Regions from separate parts of the Homo sapiens genome. Here all the other regions are linked to region 1. Evidence: promoter capture Hi-C in 16 types of primary human blood cells and fetal thymus (Javierre and others, 2016). All regions are on one chromosome and are shown on one strand. The core of a region is centred on a gene start or on the middle of the fragment in contact, and the rest is flanking DNA. Distances in the headings are between cores, read along the strand shown.

Region 1 (3,573 bases), core at 1,020-3,519:
CCTAGAAAAAAGGCTTGTTGGGGTGGGAGGCAATAGAGCCTCAAGAGATCCTCAGGGCCAGGAGTTTTAGATCCTCAGGGCCAGGAGTTTCGCCTTATGATTAGGCTTCGGAGGGATGGAGGATGTAGACTATATTTGGGATATTTATATTTTAACCTTGTATCTCTTTCTTTCTTTTTTGGGTACGGCACCTCTTTTTTCTAGGGCTTCCCTGTCTAGGTGCTTTTACTGAGATGTCTATTATAAGATACAGGTATGGTCATGTGACCTGTGCCTGCCTGACTCATCACAGATCCCCAGCTCCCTGACCAGTGATTTGCCCAGGAATGTGAACTCCCTCTGCCAGGTCAATCTTTCTTCCATGAGATATTTTATGAAAAATAGAAATGCTGGGGGAGATACCTTCCTTTTTCCTCTGGGTTCACTTAGCTGTGATGATGTAAGCCTGGAGTCAACTTTGGCTAAGTCTGCCTGACCACCCCCCACCCCCGCAATGTGAAGAGGACATTAGTCTACTGTAGGAGAAAATTAGGTCAACTGCCGAGAGAGAAACCCTGCCATGGGATGGAAGGGGGCTGTGAGAAACAGAAAGAGAGACGTCCATCTGATATGGTTTGGCTGTGTCCCCACCCAAATCTTGATTTGAATTGTATCTCCTAGAATTCCCATGTGTTGGGAGGGACCCAGGGGGAGGTAATTGAATCCTGGGGGCCGATCTTTCCCGTGCTATTCTAGTGATAGTGAATAAGTATCACGAGATCTGATGGGTTTATCAGGAGTTTCCGCTTTTGCTTCTTCCTCATTTTCTCTTGATGCCGTCAAGTAAGAAGTGCCTTTTGCCTCCCGCCATGATTCTGAGGCCTCCCCAGCCATGTGGAACTGTAAGTAAGTCCAATTAAACTTCTTTTTCTTCCCAGTCTTGGGTATGTCTTTATCAGCAGCGTGAAAACAGACTAGTACACCATTTAATGACATCTTAGAGTCTCTGAGGCCAGCTTCTCCCTTGTGGTGGCCCTGTTAGGTAAGACAGCGCCTACTCTTCTAAGTTAGTCTGAATGCACTTCCTGTCTCTTGCAGTGGAAGGATTCCAGACAGATGTAGGGGCAATGTATTTGTGAATTTATACCCACTGTGGTGGGGGAGCATTTACACATTAAGAAGGCGCCTATAGAAGGCACAGTTATTACATCTTTCTTTGTCACCTGTTGTCTGAGTACCCACCACATGGCACTTGTCACCAGGGATACAGGGGCGACCTGGTCCCTGCACTTATGGAGCTCACAGATGCCATGATGTAACTGCTTCTTTTTTTTTTGAGATGGGAGTCTCACTCTGCTGCCAGACTGGAGTGCAGTGGCACGATCTTGGCTCCCTGCAACCTCCGACTCCCTGGTTCAAGCGATTCTCCTGCCTCAGCCTCCTGAGTAGCTGGGATTACAGGCATGCGCCACCACACCCAGCTGATTTTTGTATTTTTAGTAGAGATGGGGTTTCACCATTTTGTTCAGGAGGGTCTTGATCTCCTGACCTCGTGATCCACCCGCCTCGGCCTCCCAAAGTGCTGGGATTACAGGCGTGAGACACCACGCCCGGCCTGCTTCATGTTTTTGCAAGGCCAGAGTGAGTGAAGAAAGGAATGGAGGACAATGCGGGAAGGAGGGGGAGGACTCTTTCAAAGGAGATTCTTTGAGGAGTTCTTGGGAGGCATAATGAAAATCTTCCCTGCACTGAGTTTGGGCAGGAATGAAGGGACTAACACTCCATTACAAAGCTTTTGGTGAAAGGATGTGGTCCCGGTCTATCCATCCGCCATCATCTTACATTTCCCCAGGCTGTAAGGAAGAGCCACTGATACTTTCCTCCACTAAGAGATGCCTCCGTCTGGAGGATTGTGGGAAGAAAGGGTACCTAGGTGGGTTGGAATTTCACTGGGCACTGTTCTATTGTGATGGCTTCACTGAGATTGTTGGTCTTCTCTAAACTCCAGGAATGTTCAGAGCCTTGGGCCCTCACACCCCTCAGCTGACCAGGCTCCCAGGAGCTTGCCAGTCCCGGGGACGTTCAGGCTATTTGCTTCATGCATGATACCCACACATTCTCTCCAAATCCCTGCTCTCCACATGGGGAGCAGTGATTACATGGAGCTGGTTAAGTGGCTGCATTTCAAAGTTCATTTAGTTTCTTCTCCATTCCAAGAGGCAGGGCTGGGGCCACCAGAATCTTACATCTCTGGCTTGGGTTTCAGCTCCCAGCCACTCTCTTTTACAGAGCCCACAAAGCGTGGACGGCCACCCAGCCTTCCCAGTTTACATGATCATGGGGAGAGCCTGTCAAAAGGTGAGCATGACACAGCAACCCTGCTAGTTGCCCAATCCTCGTCCTCGTGTGCTAGACATCTCTCAAATCTCTCCCCCTACCTTCTTTCTTTCCTCGCTGCTAGTGATTTAGTTTCTTGTTTGGACTAATGCAGCACCCTCCTTACTGTCCCTCTCCTCCTATCATCTATCTTGTCCCCTTCTCATCTGTCTTCCTCCATACCTGAGGAAGTCAGAGAGATCTTTTCTTTCCTTTTCTTGAGACAGGGTCTTGCTCTGTTGCCCAGGCTGGAGTACAGGGCATGATCAGAACTCACTGCAGCCTCAAACTCCTGTGCTCAAGCAGTCCTCCTGCCTTGGCCTCCCGAATAGCTGGGACTACAGGCATGTGCCACCATGACAGGGTCTCCCTATGTTGCCCAGGCTGGTCTCCAACTCCTGGGCTCAAGGGATCCTCCTGCCTTGGCCTCCCAAAGTGCTAGGATTATAGGCATGAGCTACTGTGCCAGGCCATGGTCGGCTATTTAAACTTTTTTTTTTTTTTTGGTTGTTGTTGTTGTTTGTTGTTGTAGAGACAGGGTTTTGCTATATTGCGGTTTTGCTATATTGCCTAGGCTGGTCTTGTCTTGAACCCCTAGGCGAAAATGATCCTCCCACTTTGGCCTCCCAAAGTGTTGGGAAAACAAGCATGAGCCACTGTGCCCAGGCTGGAGAGAGCTTTCTAATGCCACACATCCCAGCACATCACTCTGCTAATGAAGTCCAGGTAGGGCTCACCATTGCCCTCAGGATAAATGTTAGCCTGGCACCATGTTCTTTTCCATGTGCAGTCTCTGGCTGCATCTTCTTTTTCTACCCTACTCTCTAACACATCCACTGCCACACTGAATTAGTTTTCTGAAATGCCATTCCCTTTTTGGCCTCTTGGCCTTTCCACTGGCGACATTCTTTGTCCTGTCACCTCTGTTCCCTATCTCTGCCTGGCTGATTCTTACTACTCTACAGAAATGATTCCAGCTCCTCTGTGAAGCCCTTCCTGATCTCTTGTCAAACGGGAGACCTGATCACTCTGCTACGTGCTTACCAAGTCTTTGTTCATCTTCTTCTTCTTAGGCACTCAGAAAAGACAACATTTTCCAGGCTTCCCTGTGGTTCAGTTGAGGTTCCCTGATAGTGTTCTCACCAGGGTGGGTGGAAGTGAGGCCTGCCGTATCCAGGCCTGCTTATTAAGCTCTCGTGAATCACCCAAACTCTCTTC
Region 2 (4,006 bases), core at 247-2,746, 4.2 Mb after region 1:
ATATTAATAGCAAAAGTATAATGCCAATGCATAGTAAATAATCCTAAGCATCGCTGATGTGTACTTTGAAACAGCAAAGGCAACAAAAAGAAGAAAGTAGCGTAAGTCAGCAGATTGAAAGAAAAGTAAGTGTGAGGGACCTAATTAAAGCTTAGTTTTGTTTTTCTTCCCTATAGAAAAAGATGTCATAGGACTGCTTTTGCCCAAACATTTACCCAACCACATATAACTTAAAAATCACATAGGCTTCTAGCAAGAACAGAGAACACAGGAATGCTTTTCCTTTGTGTTTGCTTTGGCATTGGTGAGATCTGAATGACCAATTAGTATACCTCCAACTTCAAATGTTCAGCCTGTATTCAAAACAATCTAAGTGAAGTAATTGATTTCTCATTTCTCTCGTATTATTTTTACTCATTCACATGGAAGAGACTTAACAAATTCTCATAAAGCCTTCTTTCTTCTCCCATTCATCTCTAATTGTTGATGTTCATCAAGATTTGGACCTAAGACCTCTTCTCTTTTCACTCTACCCACTCTACTTGCATGATCTCATTCAAATTTGTGATCCCCAATCTATGTCTACAATCAAGATCTCTGAGCCTCACATCCATAGATCCACATGTCTAATGAATTGTAAGCTTCTTTTAATGTCCTGCAGGCCCATAAAATGCAATTTAGCTGAAACTTTTTGGCTTCCCCCACAAACTGGCTGTAGGAGATGTGCTGAGTAAGGGGACCTTTGATGACTTGTTGTAGCCAGAAATCTGGCTTAACGATGACATGCATATTTCTCTAATATAATCCACAACATAAACGTAGTTTCCACAGTAATCTTCCTAAAGTGTATATCATGATCCTACCTCCCTTAGGACCCATAACTAACTTTTCACTGCCCAAGGATGTGTACCTTTAGGCTTTTCCCCTTTATTTTCTCAGCTTAAAATATCTGTGTACCCCCATCAAAATCCTATACTTTAAGAAAGAGATGAAACATAGAAGTCCCTGGACAGAGCTTATTCTGTCTTCTCATATGGCCCTAAGACCCTTTGTTCAATCCTCTATTCAGCCCTTCTTCTGCCTTCAGCTAATATTTGCCTCACAAGGAGGACTATAAGCTCTATAAGTGTAGGCAGTCTGTCGCCTTTTTCCTTAATGTCTCAACATTTAACAAAATACCTGACGCACTCAATACACTGCTAATAAATGCCATAATTCAGCGGGAGCCTCCCAGTTCACATAATGGAAGCCTATCACGCTAGCAGCAACTTAAAGGCAGAGTTGACCCCAAAGTAAACATGTGGGCTTCATTCTTGTTTCTCATTCATGAGCTCAGGTTATATCTATTTTTCTGGCCTTTTTGAAATATATATTTTTTATAGCAGCATGATTTATAGTCCCTTGGCTATATACCCAGTAATGAGATGGCTGGGTCAAATGGTATATCTAGTTCTAGATCCCTAACTGTTGTGGGGTGGGGGGAGGGGGGAGGGATAGCACTGGGAGATATACCTAATGCTAGAGGACGAGTTAGTGGGTGCAGCGCACCAGCATTGCACATGTATACATATGTAACTAACCTGCACATTGTGCACATGTACCCTAAAACTTAAAGTATAATAATAATAAAAAAGAAATACATATTTTTTTCATTCTAGGAACTCTCATTCTCAAAGGAGCAATGATTTCATTGTAAGCTGATTTACAATGGCTTCTGGGAGGCAGGACTTACAGGCGAGTTTTAACGGCACTTTCTGCTCACTCGTACCACATGTATCATTCAGCCATGGCTCACAATGCTATAAAAATGTCTCCACTTGCGTGATGAAACACGTCTATCCCAAGGTATGCCAGAGATTTGAAAATAAAAAGTAAATCTCCTCCTTGGGTGGGATCCACATTATCATGCAATTTGTGAGCATGCCCACGTGAGCCCGTTTCAGGCACTTTTAGATCAGTGGAGCAGCTATTAAAGTGCCATCAAAGCATTTTTGACTCCATAGAATTAATCACGAAATCTGTTCCTGCCAGCTCACTTATCATATTCAAAATATTAATTTAGAGCAAAATTAAATCGGACACCCACCGACAGCAACATTTTGCCCTTCAGAACTCCCCTTCATATTGATTTATTAATGGCTGCCAGAACAGCCTACTAGAACAATTTATTACTTCTTTCTGGATGTTTCTTTATGCTTACAAATAGTCTTTGGGAAAGAGAGGTGTTATCTGACAGTCTTTTGACAGGGGTATTTTTCAATTTGCATAACATTTGGGGGATTTATTGGGATTTAAGGAAGAAGTACCATTTTAGTATCGGTGGCAATAGGTAATTTGCTTCAGGAAGCTTTAAAGCCGGGGGGTCACTTTAAAGCTCGTAAGTGGTGCAAGTCGGAGATGATGTAAAAACTTCGTGCATCACTGAATCCACTCTTCACTGTGATGAAGTGCTATAAAAGCAAAATGGAAGCATAGGGTGTCTGTTTATGAACTATGGACATATTCTTTTTACTTTTGCTATTAAGATCTCAAATACCCGCATCAGCACTTGAATAGCATGAAAGTTCAAATGCTCAACTGTGACAGTACAAATTCCAGGTAGTAAAAGCAAATAGTTCCCTAATCCTGAGACAAAAGGCTCCTTAACTCTCCGGACCTCAGAGAGAAATCACACTGAGCAGAACCACTGAACAACCCTGACAAGGCCCAAAGTCCCCATCCCACTGGTGTACGCAGTGTTACCAACAGGGATACAGACAGGAGCCAACTTCGATTGAACCACAGGCCTTGTGCTCATTCACTCGGCCATTCCATACATTTTAATTGAGTGCCTACTACCAGGTGCTGTTATAAACACGGGGAATGCCAAGTTGAAGTCCCACATGAGGTCCAAGCTCACACAGAACTTACATCCTCATTGAGACAAGGGGGATGGTGACAGAAAATTTTTAAAAAAGAATCAAAGAGACAATTTCAAATAGTGTAAGGTGTTGTGAAGAACATAATATAGGGTAACGGAACAGAAGGTGATTGTGGGGTGGCAGGGACAGTATTTTAGTTAAATAGTCAGGGAAGACCTCTATTAACAGTTGAGAGAAGAGCATTCAGACAGCGGAAACAGTCGGCATCAGGTTTTTGCTGTAGGTATGAATTTGTGTGTACAAGAAACACGAAAAAAAAAAAGTCAGTGACTGCAAGATAGTGAATGAAGGGCAGAGAAGTCATGGATGAGGTCAGCCAGGCAAGACTCAGATCTTTGAGGGCTTTGTGTGCCTAGGTAAGTGATATAATGTGATTATGTTTTAAAATACAGCTCTGGCTGCCCTGTGGGGAGGTACTTTATGTCTCTTATCTCATTGAATTTCAACCATCGCACTATGAGTTTAAGTACTATCATCACTCCTGTTTTAGAGAAGTTATGTAGATTAGCCAAAGGCACAACTAGTTGGTAAAAGAGCTAACATCTCAACTATACCAGACACCAAACTCAGTTTGTAACTTTCAAGAGAAGCATAAACATTTTATAACTATTTAAAATTGCTTCTTTTAGATCCAAGGCAATCTGCTCATAGGTTCAAAGATTCCCTTTGAAAAGAATGTCATCCCACCCTCACCCTATGCACAGCGTCCTACATATGGAGGCAGATTTTACAGGTGAATTTTCCCGGTCACTGCCTTTTAGTTAGCTACTTGGGATGTGTCCTGTCCTCTCAGCTGTCTCCTTCCTGGGTGGCACATCCATTCTGCAGTTCCTTGACGTATGATCACATTGTCCTCATCTGAACACAGCCATGATGTACCAGTGACAGGGCCTGTCCTCATTAGTCTCTGTAAATGCTGTCTGTGTCTTCATGGGTACAATCCAAAGGTTCCTCATTATTACATGTCCAGCATGAGTTCAACCATCTGGAGCATTCTCATTATGTGCAAAAAAATAATAATAATAAATAGTTTGACACATATGCTATTCTATTAAAGTTCTTTCTTTTTTATTTTTACTCTTCTT
Region 3 (3,727 bases), core at 798-3,297, 4.7 Mb after region 1:
CATATGCAACATGAAAAAAGACTATATAGAAAATGGAAATTTCAAGTGAAACAGTTTCATGAATATCTTCAGCAAGCTAATGGGAATGAAGCACAAGCAGGATATCGTTTTTAATTTAAAGTTAATAGATAAGGCTGTTAAGAACATGACAGCAGAAATAAAAATCTAAACAGCAGAATTGAAAGAGCTGAGGAAATCTCTCAGAAATCAGAGAAAAAAGACAAAGAAATGAAAATAAAGTGAAGATAAGAAAATTAGAAAGCCCATTCAAGTGAAAACTGAAAATTATTTTAATATTTTTCAGAACAAAAGGACTTAAGTTTCCAGATGGAAGAGCTCATGAAATACCAAGCATGATGAATAAAAATAGAACTATACCAAAGGCCTCTCTGACTTTCTACCAAAATGTAAACTCCACAAGAACTTACAACATGTAGCAGTACTTACAACATGTTGGGGACCTGCCAAGAAAACACAGAAGCCAGCCTGGTGGATTCCTACTGGCCAAATCTGGGCACAATTTGAGCATCAAAAAAAAAAAATGATAGTAATGGATTATAAACCAGCAAATAAAATAAGAATCCATGAGCCTATACCAATATTAATAAATGTTTATAGGTGAGCGATTAAATGAAGGTCCCAGGAATGAGGGCTTTGGTGACAGAATTTTGTTAAATAAAGGAAAATGAAAAGCTTTTTCTTATAGTAGAACAGCAGCTAATAAATGGGTATGAATCATGAAGTTAGAAAATCACCATTCTGCAGCTGTCCAAGCAATAGGAGATGCTAAAACTAGTGGGTAGAAGGTCAAGGAGGAATAGGATACATACATATTCTCAAACACTGCCTGACAAATTGTCAATTACAAAGGGCAAAATAATAACTTTACAGTAGAGAAACTTGGCAGACACACCCTCAACTTTAACTAAGGGATCAAAGTTAACATCAGCAGTAATGGAACCAATGGATAGCATGAGTCTCCAGATACGATACACAGAAAGGGCAAACACCAACTGGTATTCCTGCCAAAAATGAATAACCTGAATCTAATTTTGAGGAAGCACTGGAGAAACCCAAACTGAAGGACATTCTACAAAATAATGGCCTATGCTCCTCATGTTGATACCAAGAAAGATATAGAAAAGTAGCTGATCAGATTAAAGAATAAAGATACATGACAAATAAATACAGTGCAATATCCTACAAGTATTTTCAAAGCTTATAATTTTATCAAAATAAAGTTACCCACGCCTGAAAAAACTTGTGTATGGAATTAATGGAGGTGTCAAGAGGGAGAAAGGGTTATGGTGTGACTTGGCTCTGGATTCCAAGGTGGGCTTTCAACCCTTTAGAGTTGTTCTAATCCCCCTTTCCTCTTTCTAGAAGTGTTCAAATTCAAAGTCTGTTTATTTATAATATGTTTGTAACCTCATATAAGAGACAGTTTGCAGGCAGTCAAAAAAATGGGCTTAACCCTTATTGGAAATATTCAAGCCTCAGAAAATAGATATTTTGGTTCTGATTTGGTAGAATAAACAAGTGTGCTGAAAACAGCAGCAACAATCCAAAAAGCAAACAACTGGGAAGTGACTAAGTAGATTGTGATATATCCACAGCTTGAAATAGTATGCCTTAACAAAAGGTATGTTCAAAGATTATCTATTTTCATGGTTAAATGTTTATGACAGCATGTTGAGTAAAATAAGGTACAGAGAAACCGATACACAGGAACCCAATATGCATGCATGTTTGTATATGTGTCTGTTGATTATGGTGTGTAGATGTGCAAGAACATAATGTACATTGCCCTCTAGTCTGTATGTGACATAGTGGTTTCTAGGAACTTAGGATAACACTACCTATCTCTCAATGGGTGCAAAGTACTCAGTACACGGCAAATGCTCTATCGATATTATTACTAAAACAAAGACCAGAGGAAAGTAAGCCAAAATGTTAATAATGACTATTTCTGCATGATAAAATCATGAGTTTGTGTGTGTGTGTGTGTGTGTGTGTGTGTGACGTGTGTGTGATTTGCTTTTTAATTTTTTTCCTGTTTTCTACAATGAGTATCCATGAGATGATGATGATGATTATTATTATTATTATTATTATTATTATTATTATTAGGAAAAACTAAATTTTTATCTCCTGCCCCTACTAGTTTCACCTGGAAGCTAAAGGAACAATAACTGACTGGACATAAATATTCAATTCTAGGCATCCAGAGAGAGTTCTTTCTTTTCCTTCTTTTTTTTCTTTTTCTTTTTTTCTTTTCTTTTTTTTTTTTTTCTATTTTTGAGACAAGGTCTCTGTTGCCTAGGCTAAAGCACAGTGGCACAATCATAGCTCACTGCAGCCTCAACCTCCTTGGCCTTGGCTCAAGGGATCCTCCTGCCACCATTTCCAACTAATTCTTTTAATTTTTGTAGAGAAAAGGTCTCCCTATATTAGCCAGGCTGATCTCAAACTCCTGGGCTCAAGTGATCCTCCTGCCTCAGCTGCCCAAAATGTTGGCATTACAGGTGTGAGCAACCTCAGAGAAAATTCCATAACTGAACAAATAGACTTGAGTTCACTGACAGCAGTAACATTTATATCCAGAGAGAGCACAGTTGTTCCCTTACGAAGGCTGAAACATTTGACATATATAGTAAAGAGTGAGGCAGGCTATAAAAAATATGTGTGGACTTGCCTAAGTTTCTCAAAGAGCACAAGGAAGACAGAGTAAATCCTTGACAAAACTGGTCTTTAGATATGCATTAAATACAAAGTTTGGAAACATGTGTTTAACGTGGCTGGGGATTAACGCTAAGGAACAGGAGGTTTGGTTGTTAAAGAATATACTTCTTGCTTAACCTGCTAAAGGAAGCTTCTGGGAACCCAAACAGCCACACTATCCTGTGGAAACCCTCCAGGTTTGACTCCAGACATCTCACATATCTAGATCAAAAGGTATCAAAAAGCTCCTGAATGGAGACCACGGTCCTGTTTTAATATGGATGGTCAGGTCAGGTCTGAGGATCTGTTAGCACTTCTGAAAGGTCTCATCTCAGTTTATCATTTCCCTCCTTACCCATTTCAAGGACATTACCTAGAAAGATTTTTATACTTACAAAGACCTCTTCCAGAAAGACTCCACACATAAAATCCCTCAGAATTGATCCAATCTTTTTTTTTTAACCCACAAAAAAATTTACACATGCCACACTAAGGAAATAAATTCTACAGTGGTCAGACTTACCAAGTTTTGAACTTGCACTTCCTAAGTCCTTTTCCATAAAGATAGGGCTGAAAGGATATTTTCCTCTAATATGGGTATATTCATAACGCCTGATAGTTCACTTTATTCTGACTTTACTCTGGCTGAGGAACTGGTTATATAAGAATCAAAATAACTTCTTCTGATTACTAAATAAATGTGTAATGAAAATATGCAAAAGCCATCTGGGTCTACACAAGCCAATCCTAGGTATCATTATTGTTCCCTTTAAGCTTGCATAGGTTTGAATTACAGAAAAATAATGAGAAAATTCTTTGAGATGTTTAGCTATGCTGCTTAGAAACATATAAAGGATCATGGAGATTTCATCTTTGGTACTAATAGAAAAGAACTTCCATTGGAAAGCGAAATGCTTTTATGTTTTAATGCTCTCTAAAATGACCAGAAAGTCACTCCAAAATGTACTTCTGAAAAGGTGTCAGATTTTTATTGACCTCGTGGGAG
Region 4 (4,135 bases), core at 1,036-3,535, 4.7 Mb after region 1:
CCTTCAAGGTGGTTTGGTGTCTTTCAAGTACACGGCTGTGTTTATACCCCATCCCGGATCAGACAAGCTTCACTAACCACAGAAGTTGGGATAAAAGCCAGATGCATCCCACACATTCCTGTGGTCCTCCTGCCTTCTGGCAAACTCTAGGACCAGATTGAAAAATCTGTGCCCAGTTTGGAGGCCAAGTTTGGTGTGATCCGGGGATGATTTATATGGCTCTGGGTGGAGTCCACATGACATGTGCTACTTTGGCCAAGTTTAGCTTTGGAGTTTCTGACTCATTTGAAGTAAAATGTACCAGGTGGGGACAGATGGACTCCCCAACAGGGACCAGAGGGGTTTCCTCCAAATCTTGTGGGACCCAAAAACCACTGAATTTCTCACGTCCCTATTCAAAGGCCTAAAAAACAGGCAACACAGGTGGTGTCAGGGAGAAGGAGTTGGATGTAGAACGGCTTTCCAGGATTTGCCAAAAACAAAAATAAATTGCTTTTAATTTCTGAAAGGAGAAAGGCTGGATTGATTTTACAGGCTCTCCTCTAAACAGCAATTTACATGCTGAAACTGTAAAGCTGAGGGTAAAATATCCCTTCCTGGTGATTTAAAATCCGTTGATTAATCTCAAGTTGATGACCTTGTTCCCCTGCAACAATAGAACTTTAATTCATCTCACTCAGCCTGCCTCTAACTAGTTTTCAACAATCACTAAACAACCAGCACATAGTGGCTATCCGATGAATAGAATCCTTATTAATAAATACAAATTAAATGAAGCATATCAAAAGAACCTGATCCCAATACCAAAGTAAATAAGGACTTTCTCTGCATTTAAGAGCAAAATACATCCCATTTGGAAAAATCTCAGGTACTCTAAAGCACTGTTGTCTGATAGAAATAAAATGCAAGCCACAAATGCAAGCCATGTATGTAATTTTAAATTTCCAAGTGGCAACATTAAAACATGAAAACAGGCTAAAATTAATTTTTAAAATAGACTTTTATTTAACTCAATATATCCAAAATATTATTGTTTCAACATGCAATCAATGTAAAAAAAAAAATGATGAGCTGTTGTACATTTTGTTTTCCACAGTACGTCTTTGAAATCCTGTGTGTGTTTTACACTTAAGAACGCACCTCAAGTTGGACGGTTTGCATTTTCAATGCTCTATGGATTTATGTGACTAGCGGCTACTATTATTGGACAGGGCAGCTTTACCATAATAGCCACGCTAAATATATGTCAGTAAGCAAATTTTATAGTTAACTCAGATACAAGTGACCAGAATACAAAGAATGGTTTTGATCTTACAGAAATGGCAACATTTGGGAAGCAATATAGAAGCAGGCTATCAGGACTCTGAAAAGAGCCTTCCCCAAATTTCTCCCCCATGTGCCTCAGTTTCTCCATCTATAAAATGAGGATAAGAGCTCTAAGTATCTCATATGGCTTAGTGCGTTACAACAGTTCATACAAGTAGACTCTTTGGAACTGTGCCTGGAATATCGTAATAATCAACAAATCTTAGCAAGAAGAGGCTGATGATAAATACCTTGAAGGCAAGGACTGTTTCTTATTCACCACGATAAGCCCCAGTACCTACCACAGTCCTATTACACTGAAGCTGATCAATGAGCATTTTCTTTTAAGATATTAAGAGTGGTAGAGACTGTGACGTGCTTCCCAGATTCTTCTTTGAGAAATAAAAGGAATTTTACCCAGGCTGCTAGGAGTGCTGCTAGCAAATAGTCCTTAGCTACCATCTTTCTTTGGGGATTGCCCCAGCTAAAGAGCAATGCCTTGGTAAAGTCAAACTCCTTCTCCAAGGTGGTCCACTTACAACACAATGACTGTTGGGCAGGCTGTCTGCTCCTCAGGGAAGAGAGTTTCGAAAGGCCATTCCAGCTCCAGAGTTCCTCGTCCTTGTGTATATATCCTTGGGCATGCACCATACTCCACTTCTCCCTCTACTGCATCCTGTTTTCTTCCCCTCCCTTCCACTGGTGCCAATCCCAAAAGTACTCCCCAGTAAACATCCTGTATGTGAATACACAACCCAGAGAATGCCAACTGCAATGAAAAGAAACAAGGACTGCCTATTGAAAGAATAGTTAACACTATGAATAAATAATATTTACCAATGTTTTCTTAACAATTTATATTAACCAGGTCAGTACAAATATTGCCAGTATACCACACAGCACAGATTCTCTCCTTGAGTCTTCCCACCAGAAGTATATTTTTTTTCCAAGATACACAACCAAGCGGTGACAGAAGAAATGAGAACAGCTGGGAGCATTGATACTCTTTTTAAGAAATCTTTCTTCTTTGGGTTACCCAAGACCCACATGCTACAACCAGGCACATGCCAGGGTGAGCCTAAACCACTGGGTTCTCTCGCATCTCGGACTTTCAAATTCTTAAATTTGCCCTTTACTTTAAAAAGTCAATGATTTCACCAAGAAAGTTTGATTAGTTTCTTTTACTTTCTGTAATGAAGTGCCATCCTTTTTACACTTGAAAGGATCTTTGTAATAATGCAACATTGATCTTTTGAATACAGATGAGCTAACCTAGATAATAGGATTTAGAATGTGAAAGGCTGGACTTGCGATGATATTTAAGGCTCCAGTGCCATCAAGAGGAATTACAGCACAAAACATCTGTTTCCTGAGACATTGTCTGATGCCTCATAAATAAATGTAGGATCATGTTTCCTCCTGCACATAGTTTTTATTTGTTTCAACATCTTAAAAGAAGTCAATATGCTGTGTCCTCAGATGTCAATCATCCAGTACAAAAAAGAGAGAGAGAAGAGAGAGATTTAGCTCTGAGATCTGTCTTCTTTAGGTCTGCAGCCTTAAGGCTCTAGGTCTAGAACTGGGATTCAATTCTGATACTAGAAAACAGTTCTAATAAAACTTTAGCAAAAATGGAAAGACAATCATTCAAAGATTTTTTTGCACCAAGTTCTGTTAGGGGCTGAGGATACAAAATGAATTGAACACAATTCAAGCCTTGAATAACTGACAAGAGGAGACAGGAGAATAAAGTTTTGGAAAGTGAAGTGGATTCTCCAGGAACCATATGAGAGGGTGCCATTCTTCCATCTCCCCATTCTTTAGAAAAAAACAGAGACTTTGTGGTGGTCCCATATTCCAAGAGAGGCTGAGCAGGTACTTCTTTATATGAAGCCTCACACACAGTGGGTAGCTCTTGCTCAGTCAGGGCAAATTCCCTGTCACCTGTGTATGGACCAATAATACATTTAACAGTAGAGCAAGGTAAAAAAGAGCTATCCCAAAAATCTCAATTCAATGACAACTGCAGGAGGATCCATGCTACTATTCTCTCTACTAATGAGTATGTATGAAATTATCCATAATTTTGAAAAAAAAAAATAACTCCAAATCTAGCTTGGGACAGTGTAACTAAGTCACATACAGCATTGAGTGCTAAGTATGAGACACCGAGCACAAAATATTTAGAGACCAGAGGGCTCAGTGTGGGCTAAACTGATCGAAGAAGCCTTTGAGACTTAGGTAATATAACGACTGATAGTTATTGCCCTCTTGTTCTGTGCCACGTGATATTAGCAGCATATCACCTGCAGTTTATCATTTAATCCCAACAAGGACTGTATGAGGGAGTTACCTCTATTAATAGATGAGAAAGCTGAGGTCCAAAGTGAAGTAACTTACTCCAGAGTGTACAATTATCAGATCGTGGAACTGGAATTGGAACTGTTTGGCCCAAAAGCCTAAAGTCTTCAACAACCAAACCAGACCAAATACTTGACAAAGAGCTAGGATGGGTCAGAAAGGCATAGAGCCAATAATGAAGATTGGGATACTGAGACAGGCCACCAGGAAAGGCAGATTGAGAGAACACAGGTAGCAATGTAAGCCATGCCATGAAGAGAAACTAGCAATACAGAGTCCAGTTTGGGGTCTGGGTAGGATGCCAGACCTTGGAATGACAAATCAGGCCAAAGGAATTAGAAAATGTGCAGGAGCCCAAAGTGGGAATGCACTTACTGGAATGCCTTATAAGACAGGATTTTGGTTACTAGGCAAGCCGGAAAGAGCATAGTTCTAGATGCAAAAAATGAATTCTCAGCAGAGTATCATC

What was found. The method cuts DNA at HindIII sites, captures the fragments that hold promoters and counts their contacts. A CHiCAGO score of 5 or more calls a contact.
Region 2: a contact is called between a fragment that was not itself captured here and the fragment with the promoter of TENM2-AS1 in region 1, in 2 of 17 cell types (naive B cells and total B cells). The highest score is 9.5, in naive B cells.
Region 3: a contact is called between a fragment that was not itself captured here and the fragment with the promoter of TENM2-AS1 in region 1, in 4 of 17 cell types (total CD4 T cells, naive CD8 T cells, total B cells and 1 more). The highest score is 10.6, in total CD4 T cells.
Region 4: a fragment that was not itself captured here is called in contact with the fragment with the promoter of TENM2-AS1 in region 1 in 8 of 17 cell types (total B cells, naive CD8 T cells, non-activated CD4 T cells and 5 more); the score reaches 19.9 in total B cells.

Annotation. Positions count from the first base shown.
Region 1 is chr5:168,231,068-168,234,640 of GRCh38, reverse strand. It overlaps TENM2-AS1 (TENM2 antisense RNA 1), which reads left to right and starts at 2,269. Exons shown (of 3, transcript NR_109894.1): 1 at 2,269-2,337. All of the region lies in intron 27 of TENM2 (teneurin transmembrane protein 2), which reads right to left. The HindIII fragment of the contact is 3,214 bases long and covers 1,774-3,573 here.
Region 2 is chr5:164,018,109-164,022,114 of GRCh38, reverse strand. No RefSeq gene overlaps it. Among named protein-coding and RNA genes, the nearest start is that of LINC03000, 280 kb to the left of the region's middle. The HindIII fragment of the contact is 1,706 bases long and covers 644-2,349 here.
Region 3 is chr5:163,549,443-163,553,169 of GRCh38, reverse strand. No RefSeq gene overlaps it. Among named protein-coding and RNA genes, the nearest start is that of MAT2B, 46 kb to the right of the region's middle. The HindIII fragment of the contact is 1,654 bases long and covers 1,221-2,874 here.
Region 4 is chr5:163,567,981-163,572,115 of GRCh38, reverse strand. No RefSeq gene overlaps it. Among named protein-coding and RNA genes, the nearest start is that of MAT2B, 64 kb to the right of the region's middle. The HindIII fragment of the contact is 4,431 bases long and covers 70-4,135 here.